Linked DNA regions of Homo sapiens: region 2 is linked to region 1. The links are contacts of gene promoters, found by promoter capture Hi-C in blood cells and fetal thymus (Javierre and others, 2016). All regions are on one chromosome and are shown on one strand. The core of a region is centred on a gene start or on the middle of the fragment in contact, and the rest is flanking DNA. Distances in the headings are between cores, read along the strand shown.

What was found. The method cuts DNA at HindIII sites, captures the fragments that hold promoters and counts their contacts. A CHiCAGO score of 5 or more calls a contact.
Region 2: a fragment that was not itself captured here is called in contact with the fragment with the promoter of SPP2 in region 1 in 1 of 17 cell types (endothelial precursors); the score reaches 5.4 in endothelial precursors.

Annotation. Positions count from the first base shown.
Region 1 is chr2:234,048,675-234,052,328 of GRCh38, forward strand. It overlaps SPP2 (secreted phosphoprotein 2), which reads left to right and starts at 2,028. Exons shown (of 8, transcript NM_006944.3): 1 at 2,028-2,197; 2 at 2,297-2,421. The coding sequence starts at 2,113. The HindIII fragment of the contact is 10,293 bases long and covers 1-3,654 here.
Region 2 is chr2:235,117,919-235,121,620 of GRCh38, forward strand. No RefSeq gene overlaps it. Among named protein-coding and RNA genes, the nearest start is that of SH3BP4, 170 kb to the left of the region's middle. The HindIII fragment of the contact is 1,569 bases long and covers 501-2,069 here.

The DNA of each region.
Region 1 (3,654 bases), core at 778-3,277:
TTTGTCAGATGGATAGATCGCAAAAATTTTCTCCCATTCTGTAGGTTGCTTGTTCACTCTGATGATAGTTTCTTTTGCTCTGCAGAAGTTCTTTAGTTTAATTAGAGCCCATTTGTCTATTTTGGCTTTTGTTGCCATTGCTTTTGGTATTTTAGTCATGAAGTCTTTGCCCATGCCTATGTCCTGAATGGTATTGCTTAGGTTTTCTTCTAGGGTTTTTATGGTTTTAGGTTTTACGTTTAAGTCTGTAATCCATCTTGAGTTAATTTTTGTATAAGGTGTAAGGAAGGGATCTAGTTTCATCTTTCTGCATATGGCTAGCCACAAGGAAAAAACAACCAACCCCATTAAAAAGTGAGCAAAGGATATGAACCGACACTTCTCAAAAGAAAACATTTATGCAGCCAACACTCACATGAAAAAATGCTCATCATCATTGGTGATTAGAGAAATGCAAATCAAAACCACAATGAGATATCATCTCACGCCAGTTAGAATGGCGATCCTTAAAAAGTCAGGAAACAACAGATGCTGGAGAGGATGTGGAGAAATAGTAACACTTTTACACTGTTGGTGGGAGTGTGAATTAGTTCAACCATTGTGGAAGACAGTGTGGCAATTCCTCAAGGATCTAGAACTAGAAATACCATTTGACCCAGCAATCCCATTACTGGGTATGTACACAAAGGATTATAAATCATTCTACTATAAAGACACATGCACAGGTATGTTTATTGTGGCACTGTTCACAATAGCAAAGACTTGGAACCAACCCAAATACCTGTCAATGATAGACTGGATAAAGAAAATGTGGCACATATACACCATGGAATACTAAGCAGCCATAAAAAGGGATGAGTTCATGTCCTTTGTAGGGACGTGGATGAAGCTGGAAACCATCAATCTCAGCAAACTAACACAAGAACAGAAAACCAAACACCACATGTTCTCACTCATAAGTGGGAGTTGAACAATGAGAACAAATGGACACAGGGAGAGGAACATCACACACCGGGGCCTGTTGGGGGGTGGGGGGCTGGGGGAGGGATAGTATTAGGAGAAATACCTAATGTAGATGATGGGTTGATGGGTGCAGCAAACAACCATGGCACATGTATACCTATGTAACAAACCTGAAGGTTCTGCACATGTGCCCCAGAACTTAAAGTATATATTTAAAAAATCTCTCTTTTTCTTTCCCTCTATATTTTGGTTCTCCTTTCTGGAGAACCCTGACTAAGAACACACCTGACCTCTAACCATTTATGCCTATTTTATAGATGAGAAAATTGAGGTTCAGAGGTGTTGAGTGCCATGCCCAAGGGGATACTCCTGGTACATGGTAGAGCCAAGATCTCAGTCCAGGTCTTTCTGAGACAAAACACAGCTTCTTATGCGTGAAATCCACAAATAAGAACACAATGACCTACATACAACACAAACTGTACTTCCAATTAAGTAGTTCTCCTTTTTAATCATTCAAAAACTACCTTGGGATCTTACAGTGCATGGGAATCATCAATATGTAAATACCTTATTATCCAGGTGATGTGCAAAAGTGTCCAGTAGCACAGAAGATTGGTTAATAGGATGGTGTGTCCCAGCTTTTTACTGCACTTGTACTTGCTTCGAATATTTAGGACCCCTATATAAAATTATCTTCTCCAAAGTCATAATTTCCAAGAAGATCTTATACCCACACTATTTTCATAAGTAGTCAACTGCAAGATCTTTAGAACCATGAGGGGATCTCAATACACAACAATTTAAGATTAACCATTTTGTTGAATGTAAGATTATATCCCCTCCAAAGAATGAAATTAAAATAGAGAAAAATAAACAGCACACGTGGAATCCTGAGCCTCTTGATGCCTTTTGCCTTGGGCTAAAGTTCTCTTGTGAGTTGTAAACTTCAAAAGTGTCCTCAAACTGGAACCTTTCCATAGGAAAAGTCAGCAGAAAATATTGACCCCAGGATCAATTGTTTCTGTTTAAGTTACAGATTGCTGCAGTCAAAATAAGCAGCCAGTGTTTGATAAAGACAGCTCCTCTTAGGAAGAACTGTCATCCCCAAACACATAGAGAGACACTCTCTGTCTCTCGATTACAATCATGATTTCCAGAATGGAGAAGATGACGATGATGATGAAGATATTGATTATGTTTGCTCTTGGAATGAACTACTGGTCTTGCTCAGGTAAGGTATTCACCAACCTGGCCACCTGCTCTGGATCATGCAGAGCCATGCTGGCGCCTGTGTCTTGTCTCACTGTGCCCCATGTGCTTGCGTGTCCAGGTTTCCCAGTGTACGACTACGATCCATCCTCCTTAAGGGATGCCCTCAGTGCCTCTGTGGTAAAAGTGAATTCCCAGTCACTGAGTCCGTATCTGTTTCGGGCATTCAGAAGCTCATTAAAAAGAGTAAGTGCAAAATGAAATCTTCTCTACTCCTCCTTCCAATGCTGTCTGCCTTTTGTCAGTTCATTGGATATACTTTTAAGAAATTTTCTCCAGTTTAAAAATGATAGTAGCTAGTCATCTCTTTCATACTGTCTCTTTTCTTTGACAGAGAAAGATTTAATTACAATTTTTTGTCATGAGGCTATCCAAACCACTTTTGATGACTGATTCTTCTGCTGTATTCTCCTCTCTAACCTTGTCTTCTGGTTCCCTGCAGCCTGCTTTTGTACTTGAAGTCCTCGCGATTCTTTCTGAGGTGTTTTATTACGAACTTCTCATTTATTGGAAATGAGCCTCCTTTCAAATTCAGCAGTTCTGCTCCTAATACTTACTGGAAATAATCTGGCTTTTGAGTCAAAGAAATTCACCTTTCCTTGTCAATTTGGTAATAGTCTGTTTCCTCTTAGCTTTGGGAGCTAAAGAAAGAGTAATCACTTGGGCTTCCAATGACTAAGTCTGTGATATGCAAGGAAAGAAATGTAAAAATATCCTTCAAAGGAAATGAGAAACATAAGCAGCAAGTCATCTCCCTTCTTCCTGTTCCCCAGGTAATTTCACTGCCTTATTATCATCTGCATGGGGCTCATTTGGAGGTAGGGATGAACATATTTTCAAGCAAATTTAGGTTAAGGTGGGAGGTAGAGAGGTTCTATAAAGTTGCACATCTTAGGAATGAAGGCTCTGTATAGCCAGGCAGCATGGGAATGAGAATGAAGACACGGCTGAAGGTCCAGGCAGCAGAGGCCAGATGGACATTGCTTTCTCTCTGTCTGCCTGCTGCCTTCTCCCATCCCTCCTGGACTGACTCTTAGCTTGTTCCCTCTGCTACTCTGTAGAGCACATGGCTCATGATTTCCTAGTTCTAGTCTCCAAATACAACATATTCAGCTTGATCTTCCTCAGAACCTGGCTCCTAGTTTCTCTTTTCCAAATTTCAAGGGAAATGAATCAAAAGGACCCAGTTTTATTTTCTAGTTTGATTATAGTTCATGAAGACTATGGGCTATGCTTTTTTTTAGGTGCCATTCCAGAATCATGGCCAGAGTGGAGTCACTTGCTCTGGATGTTGTGGTGTGGAGGCACTGGTCAGCTGCCACACCAAAGGTTGAGCTGCTCCTGGATCAGAATACAGAACCCCCTTTCCTTGCTTGTATTGTATTTCAAATGCCAGTTTCCATTGGCATTTAATGAAAT
Region 2 (3,702 bases), core at 35-2,534, 1.1 Mb after region 1:
AGGCAAAGGCTTCCATCTTCTATTAGAATACAAAACCACAATAGACTGCTGATTAAAAGAGAAGTTACAATTAAATAACATTAAAAGTTTATTCTATATGGAAAGCATGACAGGCAACGGTGAACAAAACAGATAAATGTTTGGATGGTTTGGCAAAGACGATAAGAAACAAAGTGGTAAGGTGGTAACTCTCCCTGCTATTATGGTCTCTGGAGTTTCTCCACTCCTATTTTTTCCAGGCTACCAAACTACTAGCGAGAGAAAGAAATTTTATGACAGCAATGGCTAGAAAAAATACTTGAGACAAAATTGGACATTTAAATTTATAGAAAGTGCCATCTACAGCTTTAAAAATACATAAAGCAAAAACTGAAATACAAGGAGTAATTAACAGAAGCATGAAAGCAGTAGAAGTATGTGTATATACAAATACACACGCACATACTCACAACGCCAACATTCTATATTCCAATCAGGCATGTAAAAAGTGAGGCCATAAAAGCTTTGTAAAATATCTCTAATTGAGACAAATCAAGTGTCTGCTTTCAGACATAATGGAGTGACTTAAATTGGACTAACTTTCATGCCAAGAAAAAATCCTATAAAAGCTGAATAAAATGTACAAAATGACTGTGTGAAGCAGTGGGCAGCAACTAATGTAGACAGTACTGAAAGGCACAATTGTGAGAGTGAGAGAAGGGAAGCACACAAGATAATTTCTTTTTTTTCTTTTCTGGTATTCTTTTTTTTTCTCTCTTTTTTTTATTATACTTTAAGTTCTAGGGTACATGTGCACAACGTGCAGGTTTGTTACATATGTATACATGTGCCATGTTGGTGTGCTGCACCCATTAACTTGTCATTTACATTAGGTATATCTCCTAATGCTATCCCTCCCCCCTCCCCCCACTCCACAACAGGCCCCGGTGTGTGATGTTCCCCTTCCTGTGTCCATGTGTTCTCATTGTTCAATTCCCACCTATGAGTGAGAACATGCGATGTTTGGTTTTTTGTCCTTGCAATAGTTTGCTGATAATGATAGTTTCCAGCTTCATCCATGTCCCTACAAAGGACATGAACTCATCATTTTTTATGGCTGCATAGTATTCCATGGTGTGTATGTGCCACACTTTCTTAATCCAGTCTATCATTGTTGGACATTTGGGTTGGTTCCAGGTCTTTGCTATTGCGAATAGTGCTCACACAAGATAATGTCTACATTAACCCTGGTTGTTTTCCCTGTGGGAATTTTTTTAAATCGTTGCATGAGGAATAGAGACCACCTCTAACAAAGCTGAAAATCAAGCCTCCATGGGACCCAAGGTGATTCACTGATAGAGAACTGCCTGACAGGAAGAAAAAAACTTTCTTTGAAGAAAAACATCATTATCGGAGCCTCTACAATTTTTATCTACAATGAGCAAAATAAAATATAAAAATTAAAGGTTATGGTAAAAAAGACAGGACCAAGAGAAACAAACGTTAAGAAAAATGTAAACATTATATATAGTCTCACAGGTGATTTAGATATTGGAGTTATCAAAGAGAAATTTTAAAAATTGATTAGCCATTCAAGAAAATAAAGGATGGCATGGAAAAACAAGAGAAAATATAGAGAATTTCAACATAATTGAATATATATGAACAAAGCAACTGGGCGGTCTAGAACTGAAAAATACAATATTTGAAATGAAGAATTCATTAGATGAATTTAACAGTACACTGGACATAACAGAAGATGGGGAGGAATAGAATTTATTCAAACTGAAGCAAAGAGAGAAAAATAATGGAATGAACAGTACAGAATATTGTGTACATATACAGAATATTGTGTCCCCAAAGGAGAAGAGGGAAAAGAGCATAAATAATATTTGAAGACAGAATGGCTAAGTATATGTTTTAAAATATAATGAAAGACAACAACCCACAGGTTCAAGAGTCTATGCAAACCCCAAGATAACTAGAATAGGCACATCTTAGTCAAGCTGCTGAAAACCAAAGACAAAATGAAAATCTTAAAAGCAGGCGGGAATAGTGGGAATACTTTACTTTCAAAGGATCAAGAATAAAGCTTACAGCTGACTGTACAACATACTCATGGGAGCAAGTGGAATGACATCTTTAAAGGGCTAGGTATCAGCCAAACTAAAATTTTATAAACATTGAAAATATTAATGAAAATAAAGCAAAATAAGGAATTTTTGACAAATGAAAGCTGAGAAAATTTGTATCCAGTAGACTTGCACTAAAAGAAATACTAAAGATGGAGAATATCTTCATGACTTTGATGTAAGAACCGATTTCTGAAATAGATTTTTAAAAAGACACTAAACCTAATGAACATAATTGATAAATTAAACATAAATTGATGATTGACATTAAGCATTTCTGTTTACCAAAATAGACCTTTAAAAGAATAAAAATGCAATACCAACAAATATAAATGTTTATATTTGTGAACCATGTACTTGACCAAAGGCTTATATTCAAGATCAATGAAAAGGAAAATGTGTAAAAAATTTGATCAGGAACTTTCCAAAAGAATCTAAGAAGAACTTCGACTTCATTAGCTACCAGAGAAATACAAATTTAAAACACAGTAAGAGACTACCATTTTATTAGCTAAATTCTTAAATACATTCTAGATGAGCTGAAATTAAAAGACTGACTTCATTAAGTGTTGATGAGGATGTGGAGTAATTCATGTGCACTATTAGTGGCAGTGTAAGTAAATTGATATAAGCACTTTGGAAATCTATTTAGTATTATTTATTAAAATTGAATATACACATATTTTATGGCCCATGCACAAATATACCAAAATATATGCGCAAAAGCATTCATAGCAACATTAAATGTAAAGCTAAAAATGCAAAACAATGCAAATATCCTTGAATAGTAGAATGAATATATAAATTATGGTATTGTCATACAGTGAAACACAATTATTCTCTTAATAAATTTAATCAAGTAGATAAAAGGAACAAATGAAATAAGAGATTTCGGAGGGGGGGCCAGATCCATTCTTGATAAAAACAAAGATTTTGTAAGCTAAGAACATACAGATACTTTTCTGTTTTACTTTTCTTTTTGGCACTTCAGTTGCAGAGATTTAAATTAGTTATTCTCTTCAGTTCAAGGTACAACATCACCATGATTTGTACAAGACTCCCTCTTGGCTTTTAATACATTCATTTTTTTCCCGCCTCCACATTCTCCAATTCTCTCCTCCTTAGTTCTTTCTTCAGATGGAGCTGCCCTAGAGGGTTTGATATGTGTCTTTGGAAAATAAGTTTGTGAATGTGTGTGTGTTGGCAGGGGGCGGGGTGGGGAGTGGTGGTGAAGTTAATTCACATAAAGTGTAAACGACATAGTTCCTTGCTTTACATTAAATGGTTCCTTATCTTTTCATTATATCTCTTAAGATCTCCCTATGTTACTGTTGCAATATCTGGTGTATTGTCACAAAGCCTGGCAGCTATTTCTTCACCTGCCTCAACTTCATTTTCTTATCTATTCCCCTAGCGATGAACACCTAGGTTGCCTCCAACTATCCCCAAATTACTGCGAAGGACATCCTTCTACTTGTCTCCACACGGACCTGTGTGAGAATCACTTTGGGATACGTATTTGCCAGTGTGATTGTGAAGTAACAGTGTGTGTGTGTGTGTGTGTGTGTGCGCGCGCGCGCGTGCAATTTCG